Linked DNA regions of Homo sapiens: region 1 is linked to region 2. Evidence: promoter capture Hi-C in 16 types of primary human blood cells and fetal thymus (Javierre and others, 2016). All regions are on one chromosome and are shown on one strand. Each heading gives the region's core, a stretch centred on a gene start or on the middle of the fragment in contact. The rest is flanking DNA. Distances are from core to core; before and after follow the strand shown. Region 1 overlaps B3GLCT (beta 3-glucosyltransferase). Region 2 holds the start of RXFP2 (relaxin family peptide receptor 2).

Region 1 (5,541 bases), core at 3,029-5,528, 520 kb after region 2:
ATAAAAGATTACATGAGTATGATAAATACCAAATCAGGATAATGGTTAAAAGGTTTCAGCTGTGTTAATGGTATTTAATTTCTTAATCTAGGTGATATTTTATTTCTTAATCTAATGAACATATAATACATGAATGTTCATTATATTATTCTCTTTATAACTTCTTATATGTTCAAATTATTTCCTAATACTTTTTTTAAAGAGTAGATTTCTCTATCAAAAGGTTAATCCTAGCTGGGCATGGTGGCATGCACCTGAAGTCTCAGCTACTTGGGAAGCTGAAGTGGGAGGATTGCTTGGGCCCAGGAGTTTGAGGTCAGCCTGAGCAACACAGCAAGACTACATCTCTAAAAAAAAATAAAAATAAAAAAAAAGCTTAATCCTGCGCTCACCGCTCATCACAGTAACCAACTCCTGCCACTCCTACCAGCTCAGCAAAGCTCCCACTGTCTTCTCATTGAAGACAACAGCATTTCCATACAGGGAAGAGGATTTGCAAGATTAAAGAGCAAATTCTTCCCATACCTGGGTCATGTCCTGTGAGTTGTATCTGTCCTCTTTTTAACATAGCCACTAAGAAATCATGCTGGCCTCTCCCTTTTTCCTATACTTCAATCATGCACGCTTCATTCATTCATTCAGCAAACATCTTCTGAGTACCTACTAAGTGTAGGGCTCTGTGATACAAGAACGAGTGAGCCCAGTCGCAGCCCTGGAGTGTCTGAGCCTCGTTCATAGGCAGGCCATTGTAACACAAAGCAGTAAGTGGAAAGCCAGAGCTAACTGAGCACAGGGCACTGGAGCCCAGACAATCGGGGGCGAGTGCAAGGAGAGCTTCCAGGAGGAGGTTATTTCCTGAGTTTCCTTTAAAAAGCAGCAGACACACACACAGAGGGTAGCAGATCAGTGGGATCACCACAGAGCCCACAGCCTGTGGTATCTCTGCAGTCTCCCTGAGTGAACGACCATGTCTGTCAGGCATTTCTGAGAAAAGGAGCACGGCGGGGTACAGTAGGTGATAAAGTTAGAAACGGAGGCAGATCCGTTAAGACAAATCATGAGGGATTTATATACCATGCTGAGAGGCTTGGGCTCTAGATTAATCACTTTCAAATGGGGGAAGGGCCTCATGAGCCAAGTGGGGTCCCAGGCAGTGGGGACTTCCCAAAGGAGGGAAGGAGGACACTGTCCCGAAGATGGGGGAAAAAAGGGGTGGGAAGACCCTCCCCACAGAGGGAGCAGTGAAAGTTTGGGACAGAATCAAATTTAGGGCAGGAAAATACTAACGGTTAGGTATAGCCAAGGAACAGGACGCATGGGGGTATTATCGAGGACAAGGCTAAAGGGGAGGGGAGCTCCTGCAACCCTGATCATAATGAATGCCGGAAGATCACTGACATGCTAGTCAGCCCCAACCCATTCCAGAAAAGAACCAGGTTAGTATAGTTAGTACAGTTCGGTGCTGAAAACAGCTTATGTGTTTAAATTCCTGCTGTTCTTTATAGCAGTACCAAGAAATATTTTCTGACATACAGCCTAAGCCATCCCTTCACTGAATCACATTCTGGCTGAGTCCAGATCCCAGAGCTTATCTTGGTAGCTGTCTTCTCTGTGTATGCCATCCAACCACCTGACTCTTAAGCTCCTGCTGCCCAGTCCACAGAGCTAAATAAGACAATTCCATGATTTCCTTATCATCTTGGTTGCACTTCTTTAAACTCACTGCAATCTGCCTTCAGCAAACACTGTCACAACTCAAGATGGATTGTCATTGTTTCTCCCCCAGGAATGGGCAATAAATGGGCCGCACACTAAGTGCCTGACAATAATAATCAGAGTGACAGGCTAAAAGGGGAAGATAAAGAAATTAGCAAAGGATACCTAAAGGGCCAATGCAATGCCAAAGCCAATGGTGAGTGGCAGACAGTGCTCAGGAAAGGCAGCAGGACAGAGAGATAGTTAGAAAATGGATGCTGAAGAGCAATGATTCTTCTATGAAAGCAGAAGAAACCAATGCTCTCTATGTCTTCAGTTGCTGAGCACCTACCATGGGCCAAGCACTGTACTGTAAAGTGCTCATCTTCCTGGTCAGAAATTACCTAGAAAAATGGGTTTCATCATGCTGGTGTTTTTCTGATGAAAAACCAATACGATGTACTTCTGATATAAGCTGTAACAAGCAGCCTTATGATTTAAAGTTGAGGAAAAAATATGCATGCATACACACACACCCACAAACACACACACACAAAGCGGGCCACTCCAATTATGTTTACTTGGTGAGAATAATCATATACTAGTGAATCTATCAATTAGGCAGCAAGCTGAAGGAGAAACAGCATCCCGTGCATGGAGGCTATCTCCCAGCTCTGACTGTGAGCCATGCTCTCGGTGCCCTGAATCTACTGTTGTCACTGCAACTGCCCAGGATCTTTAGTAGCCTCCTGGTCTTGCAGGCTCACACAAAGATTGTGACAAAGAAGTCCCCTGGGTCTTTTTCAGATGAACTGATACCAAGTTAGGTATCACTCGACTTGCCATGTGCAATTGCAAGAATATAAATTTACTTGTCCAAGGTAACTTCCCCTTTGTAGTTTCAAGCCCATGTTCCAGACTTGCATCATTAATTCATTTAATAACCAGAGACTCATCTGCTCCCATAAACTACAAATAAATGCTCAAAGCCACAGAGTTGGTAGCAGGGAAGAAAATCTCCACATGGAAAGGCGTGGCTAAACCATACAGGGTGTTATAATAGAAAGAAAAAGCAACAAATTGACGTGGTTCCTTAAATACAGCTGCTCGCAGACCCCAAAACACTCCCCTGTGGGCCCTAGATATGCGTGCCCAAGACAGGTCATCCTCCCACTTCCACCCGGGGGCGGGGGTCTCTCCTGAACTTCTGCACCCCTCAGAACCCAGGCCCAGGAAGGGAAGGCCTAGAAAGGAACACTTTCCTTTATCCTTTTCCCTCTTATCTAGAGCTCGCCTTCCAGGTCTCCATGGAAAATAGTGGAGAGGAAGCAAGAAGAGCATATTGTTCCCTTCTTGTTTCCTGGAACCCAGGCTTATCCATCATGAAACTGGAGGTGAGCCAACCCCCTGTGTCTGAAGGGAGACTTCTCCCATGGACCGCATACCCCCTGACACCATAGGCTTCCTGTGAGGTTCCACTGCTACTGGTGTCCAGGTCCTGGCTGATTGTGTTCCAGACTTGGGTCATTCCTCCTACCCTGGGAGGAAAGACATTGACAAAATTCACACCCTTCAAGGACAAACTCACCCCTACACACAGAGGTGTGGCCTTACACACTGGGCATGCTTCCCATTAATTTTTTTTTAAAGTCTAACTCCTGGTCACATTTCTGAAGATACTTACAAACTATGGCGGAGAGGGTGTTTCAAAAGGAGTACAAATAAGGAATGGGCAATGATAGAAGTATGATGCCTTACAAAGGAAGGAGTAACGGCTTCCAGGCCAGGATGCTCGGGACAAGTTTGGCAGACGTGACTGGTGAGCTGACTCCTGAAAGGCATGGAGGTGTCTGCAGGTCAGCAAGTGGACAGCCTGCTCCCGGACGGCCTGCGCTAATGTCACAGCTTGTTCTGTTCTCCCACATCATGTGGGTCCTTAATAACAGGGACCATGTCTCCTTCCCCTCTGCATTCCCCCAGAGAGCCCACCAGGCATGGTGCTTTATCCTTACTGGAAGCTCAATGAATGATGCCAGAGGGAATTAAATCCAACATATCTCACTAAGTAAACATAAATCCACCACATGCCAACATGCCCATCTGAGAGGTGTTTGCCCCACATCTTCAGGAGAGCAAACGTTAGGCTGGGCCAAAGACAGAATATTTGAACAACAATATTTACCCCATAAATAAAATCAGAAAAAAATCACTTCATGGAAATATAATTCATACAAAATATACCTAAGTACACACTCTTAGGTAAAAAAAATCATTACTTACCTATGTCATTTTTCCTTGATATACCACTTTTCTCCAAATCCTGTATTTTAAATGAAAGAGAAAAAGATGAATCTCAGTACATAACAAAGCCAGCAGTACACTGAGTAAACATGCATGGTGCATGGTATGTATCAGCACATGGGAGGAAGATTTGAAAAACGGAGCTTGGAAACGCTTCCCTAAAGAAATGAGACCGAAACCTAAGGGACCACGGAGCAATGATGTACTTCTGTATCATGACAGACTTCTTAGTTGGGGCTGTGCCCTTCTCATGTGATCTTGGGCAAGTCAATTGATTGAGCTGAAGCTCTTTCCTATTGTGTAAGATGCAGTGAATGTTTAACTGGTTCATGATATTCTCAGGAGGGTCCATTTTTAAAGCCCTGTAAACCATAAAGCATTAGGAACATATCAGAGGATAGTCTCGAACCTGGCAGGGTGCTCCTCATGAAGATAAGTTCTACTAATTATTGCACTTTATCATCTTTTGGGTGCAGTCATGCTATCTTCAAGAATGTTACCACAATGTTCTCTCCAACCTGAGGAGTAGTCCTAGGGGCCTGCAAAGGGCCTCAGAGGCCAGCCTATGGTGGTCACCAGAATTCAGGAGCACAGAGGCCGGGTGCGGTGGCTCATACCTGTAACCCCAGCACTTTGGGAGGTCGAGGCAGGTGGATCACAAGGTCAGGAGTTCAAGACCAGCCTGGCCAATACGGAAAACCCCACCGCTACTAAAAATACAAAAGTTAGCCGGGCATGATGGCAGGCGCCTGTAGTCCCAGCTAATCAGGAGGCTGAGGCAGGACAATCGCTTGAACCCAGGAGGCGGAGGTTGCAGTGAGCTGAGATCGTGTCACTGCATTCCAGCCTGGGCAACAGAGCAAGACTCCATATCAAAAAAAAAAAAAAAAAAAAAATCAGGAGCACAGAAGGGGCACCTTAAGAGCTGGAGAGCTCCAGACACAGAAATCTGGATGTGGGCACAGAAATACCTGACCTCGACTCTGTGTAAATCAACGGAGGAACTCTCAAAAGATTTATCTGGCAAAGTGCAAAGTGTCAGCAGCTAAATGTGCCATTTTCATTGTCTTCTCTGCAGACTAAGAAGGAATTTTCTCCCTAATTGCCCTTTCTTGCTTTCAACAGTCATATGCTATAATTATGACAACGGGATGGTGGCAAATATCCTTCAATTTTCTTCACAGACTGCAACAAGAAATGTGGTCGTGAGCCCTTACCAACAAAATTGGGAGCGGCTTAAAAGCCAAGAGACGTATCCACAGAGATGCATCCTCTAAGAATACCAAAGGGACCATGACAACACTCGGGGAAGAGAGAGCTAAACACAGGGGAGGGACTACCTTTAGTGGCATATTCTGAAATTATCTTTGTCTCGAGACTAGAAATGCCACTGAGTAGAGGAGAACCTATAGTTATATGCTGATTTGTTAACTCTCACGATGGATCAAGTGACACCTAACTTAATCCTGATGAAACAGGTAGATCTGGAAGAAATTACTAAAAAAGACTGGAAAGTTCAATCCAGTTCCCTGAATGCACTGAACC
Region 2 (6,277 bases), core at 1,721-4,220:
TCATTCAGCCCGCAAGCAGGTCAGTCTTCGGGATGACTGGCCTGAAACATAATTGATTTTCACAACTATCCACAGCATGAATATAAAGTTGTGAAATTAAAATTCAGATGGAAAACCTTTTCTCAAGTCAGAGTGGCCAAGTGAAACTGACATCCGTAAGAAAGGACCATGCCAGGCATGCCTTGAGTCTGGCCACTAGGGGGCAGTCAAACACTGCTCCCCTCAAAATACTGTTCGGGCCCGGTTTTGGTTAACCTATTTTGGAGGTTAAGCAAATTATTTAAGTAGCAATTGGTAGTTGCCAAGTAGCAGCCTCAATGCTTCATGCTTTTACTTTCTTACATAAGCCCATGTTTTTGATTTGTAATATGGTTCCTAATTTGTCCATTAAGAAATGTTTTTTAAAAGTTTAAAGTTATGTTTAATAACTTTATTTTAGAGATGTTTACTCTTAGAGACAGATACTGTTTTTAGATCTGCCTGTGGCTTTGGAGTTCCCAGTCTAATTACGTTAACGCAAGATAGTTACTAACAATTACATGAATTTTATGGACATATTTCAACAGGTTGAAATTCCACAAAACACAATTGGTAGTTACCAAGTAGCAGTCTCAATACTTCATGCTTTTAATTTCCTACATAAGCCCATGTTTTTGATATGTAATATGGTTCCTAATTTGTCCATTAAGAAATGTTTTTTAAAAAGTAGTTTGAAGCTGGTTAACAGAGATACACAGTGAATAAATTAATGATAAAACACACGTAATAATAATAAGATACATTATGCATAGTTGTCTGTTAGTGCCTGTAGCTTAAGGCAATCACTCATTCCTTAGGCACTCCAGAGTGATGATGGTCAGAGAAGAAAAGACGATCACATAATTTCTAATTTTATGTTTTGTTTAGATCTGGCCTAAGAGTCTATCACAAATATTATTTAAATTAAAAAGACAACCTTTACTCTTAGGCAACTCTAAATGAGCTTTCTTTGGTTACTATGAAAAGCCTTACCGTTTTAATTGTCCACAATTTTGTTGTGAAAAAGAAAAGAGTTTTACTAATTATAGAGCAAATTCTATTATTTTTATAAGTAGGAATAAAATGTCAAAGCATTGATTAATGTGTCTTGCTTTGAAAAGAAATCATTTTAAACATAAAGGTTTAAATTAGTAGTCAAAAGTAATATAAAATTAGAAAATAAAAATTTCCAGGATTATAATCAATAAATATTTGTTAGGTTGGTACTAGGAGTTTGAAATATGGCTTTTACTTAGAAATAAAATCAAACAAAAATTATTAATTGAACTTTTTTTTAGTTTAAAGGGTGACTTTACATTATGGTAAATCACAAAATGTTATTTTAGTAATAGATGTTTTTCATCTCATAAACGGTTTAAGCAAAATCAATTAAATGCATTATGTATAAAAGCAAAAGTATAGTAAAATTGGTTAAACTGTGGTTATAGTCCCGTACATTAAAGAACTTTTTAAGGGCACAGATGAGCTCTATGACATGTCTTAAGAACCTGCTTTGTAGCTGTATATTCTTAAAATTGTATAAAATTGAATATTCAAATGTGGATAGAACATGAACTTCTGAAGTAGGACCTTAAATATAGAAATAGACTGCTTGTTGCAACTGTACTGCATGCAAGGTGAGTTCATATATTGTTTCTTCTTAGTTAATCCTTAGCTTTTCATGTAAGAGATATTAAAATATAAAATAAAAGTCATGCTAGGTGCATGGAGATATAGATTTTAAATATTTGTAGTAAAGTTTTAGTATTATTTTAAATTCAAAATAAAATTTAGATATTTTAAGCCTTTTAAAAATCTTTTGTTTGTTAGAAGTTTTAAAATAATTCCTCATAAGTATTGCATTTTATTTCAAGATTTAAAATATTCACTTGGAATTCACCTAATAAAACTGAATATTTAAAAAACCTAAAACGAATTTCTCAGAAAATAAAAATAATTTCAAATTTTAACCTTTATTCTCAGAGGTTTATCAAAATTCTTTAAGAAAAAATACAAATTAAAATAGAAACATTTTTGAATAATAATAAACCCCAGCAAATCTTGGGTGTGGTTAATAGGTTGTTTATGAATGTATAGGCTGACAACGTATCTTTTTATTTAAAAACAAGTGAAGATTTAGGTTTTATTTTTTGGTGAGCTTTACAATGAAAATGGTACTGACTTGAAACTTAAGAGTTTGACTGAAATAAAAATTTCCACAAATTAAAAACAAAAGAAAATTATCTAAGTAAATGCACTTGTATAGACTTTTAATAACTTTATTTTAGAGAGGTTTACTCTTAGAGACAGATACTGTTTTTTAGATCTGCCTGTGGCTTTGGAGTTCCCAGTTTAATTATGTTCACGCAAGATAGTTACTAATAATTACTTGAATTTTATGGGCATATTTCAACAGGTTGAAATTCCACAAAACACAATTTTAGTTTATTAATTTGTCACACTTTTCAGAACAAATGCCAAAAATGTTTTCTATGTTTTAATTGATATAGTCAACATTGTTTTTTGACATATTTTATCTACAGCTTTAATAACATACAAAGGCTTGTTTCCATGAAAAATTTGTTGCATCTAAAAATTACTAGGCTGTGTGGGACTACAAGCAATGAAAGATAATGACAAATACCAGGCAAATTTGATGTCTGTTTTTTTTTTAAACACCCCAATATATTTATTACAACTGCCATAGAACTACATAGAAATGTATTTTTTGGGAATTGCACTCATTTAAAACGAGAAAGTAGCAACCTTACCTTTGACATTGATCAGAACGATGAAATGAAGTAGAAAGAACATTGTAATCAATCTGAGGCTGAAGAGATGTTTAAAAACCAGAAAAACAATCATAGGTTTACAGCAATTGAGTTATTAGACGTATCCTCTTATACCTCAGCAGGAGTTCTGATGTAGTAAGTTCAGTGCCTCCCATGTTCTGAGCATGCTCACAGCTAGAACCTCACTGGCATGAAGGGAGATGGATTCTTGTCACTATGCAGCCTGTCTTTTTTGTTCTTTCTTTTTTGTTTCTTTTAGTTTAAATCTACAGTTGTGTTCTTGATCACTAATTCATTATGGTGTGTAAAAGAAGGTATAATAGGACTTTGGTATTATCTGATAAGAAATATTTTTTAATCACTTAAAAATTTTTTTCCTCCAAAGCATGTACAATTTGCTCTGTTTAAATCCAAACATCGAAGTTCTCAAATATGAAGGATATAGGCTTACACTGAATAGGCTATGAAACCCTTTACAATTATATTTTCATGCAATAAACAAATGTAAAAAACTACTTATTGACAGATACACAAAGAACACCCACTTCTATTCAAATGTACCTAAATGTTTTCAAATGACATATGAAAAGATAATTTAAATATATGGCATTGTGTTAAATAATTACTGTAAAACATTCATACAATATTTTCACTTCACATACTTCCCGCATAATCATATTCCTTTTTCTTGAAGTGAATAATTTTATTCTTGCTTCCAGCTCTGTATTGCACACCTATTAGAAAACACTAATTATAATTTAGTTCTTACATCCTGAAAGCAGCTTTCTCAACAGCATAGTTAGTACAAGTTAAAAGTATAAAAATTGACTTTTGGTTGTAGGATTCTGTTGATCCTAGTGTAATCATTAAGACTTCTCCAAAAAGATGTAGAATTTCCATGTCTGAGTTTATATTTTACTAACAGGGAAATATCTATCTAGAATACAGTTTGTAGTTCTGATTTGAAGAGAAGATTTTGTGACTGAACGATGCAGATTCTCTTATATGTTGTCGTTAACTGTGTCCTAACAACACTGAAAAAAACTACCTTGTGGTGACTATTATCGTCACAAATCATAAAACACGGGGTTTTCCTTGTTCTTTCTTTCATTCTAGCCTTTGAGAGAACAAGGATTCAAACAGAATGTACAATAAAAAATACTTTATTTATCACATAATGTATTTAGTTCTTTTCTCTTTTTAAGAAGTGAGTTAAGTTCTCTAAGACACCTCCCAGACATATTTATATGTGGTCTCATCTGATCTTTCAAATCAAAAGAAAAAGCAACAGAGAGAATAAAGATGAAAAGAAATACTTCAGGATCTTTTCTTACATTTCAAGCATCTTTTTTTCCCTCACTAACCTCAAGGTCTTTTTAGGTAAAAATTGCCTTATTTCACTTAAAGGAATGATTAGTTTTTCTTACGTTTTGTGTTTTGCTGTCGAGATGATGGATGCTAGTTTCTGGTACTGAAATTTTGAGCATGAGTTTTTAAGTGCAATTAAATACCATCATAAGTCTATTTGAAGTATAAATATATTTTCTATGAAAATGTAATTTTTGGAGAAATAAGAAATGTCAAGATGTCAAAGAAATTAGTTAAGATTTATTCATGATATCGAGCCCTAGCAATAGATTTACATTGCCAAAAAGTTGAATCGTTATTCCTTTCTGTTAGGCTTTTCAATGTTAATCTTTGAAATGTATTAACACAAACTTTCAGAAATCAATAATTATAAATAATAGGAACATCTTTGGCTCACTGGTTTTTAAAGGTAGAGCATGCAAGCTTTGAAATACCATTTCATTTAATATGTTTTAACTTTGACTTATCTGGTGTGAATATCCAGCCTTTTGCACCGAAACTGAAATGATTGACATGTACACAGGGATATAATGTATGTGTTTAAATAAGAGTGAATGAATGTAGTCTATTCTTAAAGCCACAGTTGGTAAGGAGGTTCCAAGGAGTGCTTCATGCAGAGCTGAGATGAAAGACTTGTGCAAACTGATTCTCACTCGATAGTAACTTCGAATCTGCGCAAGTGTTTTTTATTGATCCTTGCCTGAATCAGCTCATCCCTTCATTCCAGTCACCTGTTGGTAGGACCCATACTTTTAGCAGTAATACTATAAAACCTCATGTGAATATATTATTTACTATATAGCACAATTCAATATAATTCTGGCTAATTGAAGGGAATTTATTTACTGAAAGTACTAATTACCTAGTTCTATGTGATGGGGGGAGGGCACAGACATTTTCTTAGCTTCTACTGTAATTTTTGTGTACATCTTGGAAACCATTGTTAAATATAAAATTCTTAAATCAAGAACATAATTTACTTAAAAATGGTCAGAAACCCTAATTTTAACACATTTTCATAACTGTGTGATTGTTTTTTATATAGGCTATAATTCATTACCTTGCCAAATTAATGTTTTCAATTAAGATATTTACTAAACACTTACTCTACTTAATGAGAGTATAGCCTTGTAAACATTTCTCACTTCTATAGCCTTTTCACTTTATATAGCCTCTTATTCACAAAACCTGATCCATTAGCAGTTAGTATCACTTTCTGTTTTGGGGAAAACAAGACATAGTGATATTCAAAGAACAAATTATATGAATAGATAATATCTGTCCTCAAAAAGATAAATTATAGAATAATAAACATCAGAATCCCAAGCTCATGATAGCAGGCCAATAATGTCAATGCTCACTTGAATAGCCTCCTTATCATAAATCAAGTTATAGTAAAATCTGAGGAATTCAGCCATACTAGCTAAGTATTTGTGATTATAGCTATATATTAGCCTTTATGTGTGAGTTTATAGCATTGTCATTATTCAGTAAGATTTATTTGCACCCTGTGGGCACAGCAAACCTAACAATCACATGATCTCATCAGCATAGTCAACACAGTGTGTCCATCAGTTGAGCAAACTAGTTCTGGCACAGGGTCCATTTTGATCAAGAAAGTCTAAATGAAGGTTTCTTTTTTTTTCTTTTTTTAGACAGGGTCTTGTGCAGTGGTGCTATCGTTGCTCACTGCAGCCTCAACCTCCCAGGCCCAAACAATCCTTCTACCTCAGCCTCCTGAGTAGCTGAGATCACAGGTGTATGTGACCACATCCACTAATTTTTTATTTTCATTTTTTGTAGACGTGGGGTCTCCCTATGTTGCCCAGTCTGGTCTTGAACTCCTGGGCTCAAGCAGTCCTCCCACCTCAGCCTCCCAAAGTGTTGGGATTATAAACATAAGCCGCCATGCCTGGGCTTAAGTGTTCTAACTTTGATGTTCTAAATTTTAAATAATTTAAGTCATGCTCCATTTGTCTGGGAATTTCAACTCTTGGCAAGCTCAATTATTAGGAGCATAGCCACGAACCCAGAGTAAAAAATAACCCTGAGACATCCACTACTGGCAGTATGGTAGATTAGATACACTGAAAAGACTT

What was found. The method cuts DNA at HindIII sites, captures the fragments that hold promoters and counts their contacts. A CHiCAGO score of 5 or more calls a contact.
Region 1: a contact is called between a fragment that was not itself captured here and the fragment with the promoter of RXFP2 in region 2, in 1 of 17 cell types (M1 macrophages). The highest score is 5.6, in M1 macrophages.

What each region holds. Positions count from the first base shown.
Region 1 is chr13:31,221,426-31,226,966 of GRCh38, reverse strand. It overlaps B3GLCT (beta 3-glucosyltransferase), which reads right to left. Exons shown (of 15, transcript NM_194318.4): 3 at 3,976-4,015. Among named protein-coding and RNA genes, the nearest start is that of B3GLCT, 24 kb to the right of the region's middle. The HindIII fragment of the contact is 7,802 bases long and covers 378-5,541 here.
Region 2 is chr13:31,736,219-31,742,495 of GRCh38, reverse strand. It overlaps RXFP2 (relaxin family peptide receptor 2), which reads right to left and starts at 2,970. Exons shown (of 18, transcript NM_130806.5): 1 at 2,790-2,970. The coding sequence starts at 2,883. The HindIII fragment of the contact is 9,597 bases long and covers 1-4,603 here.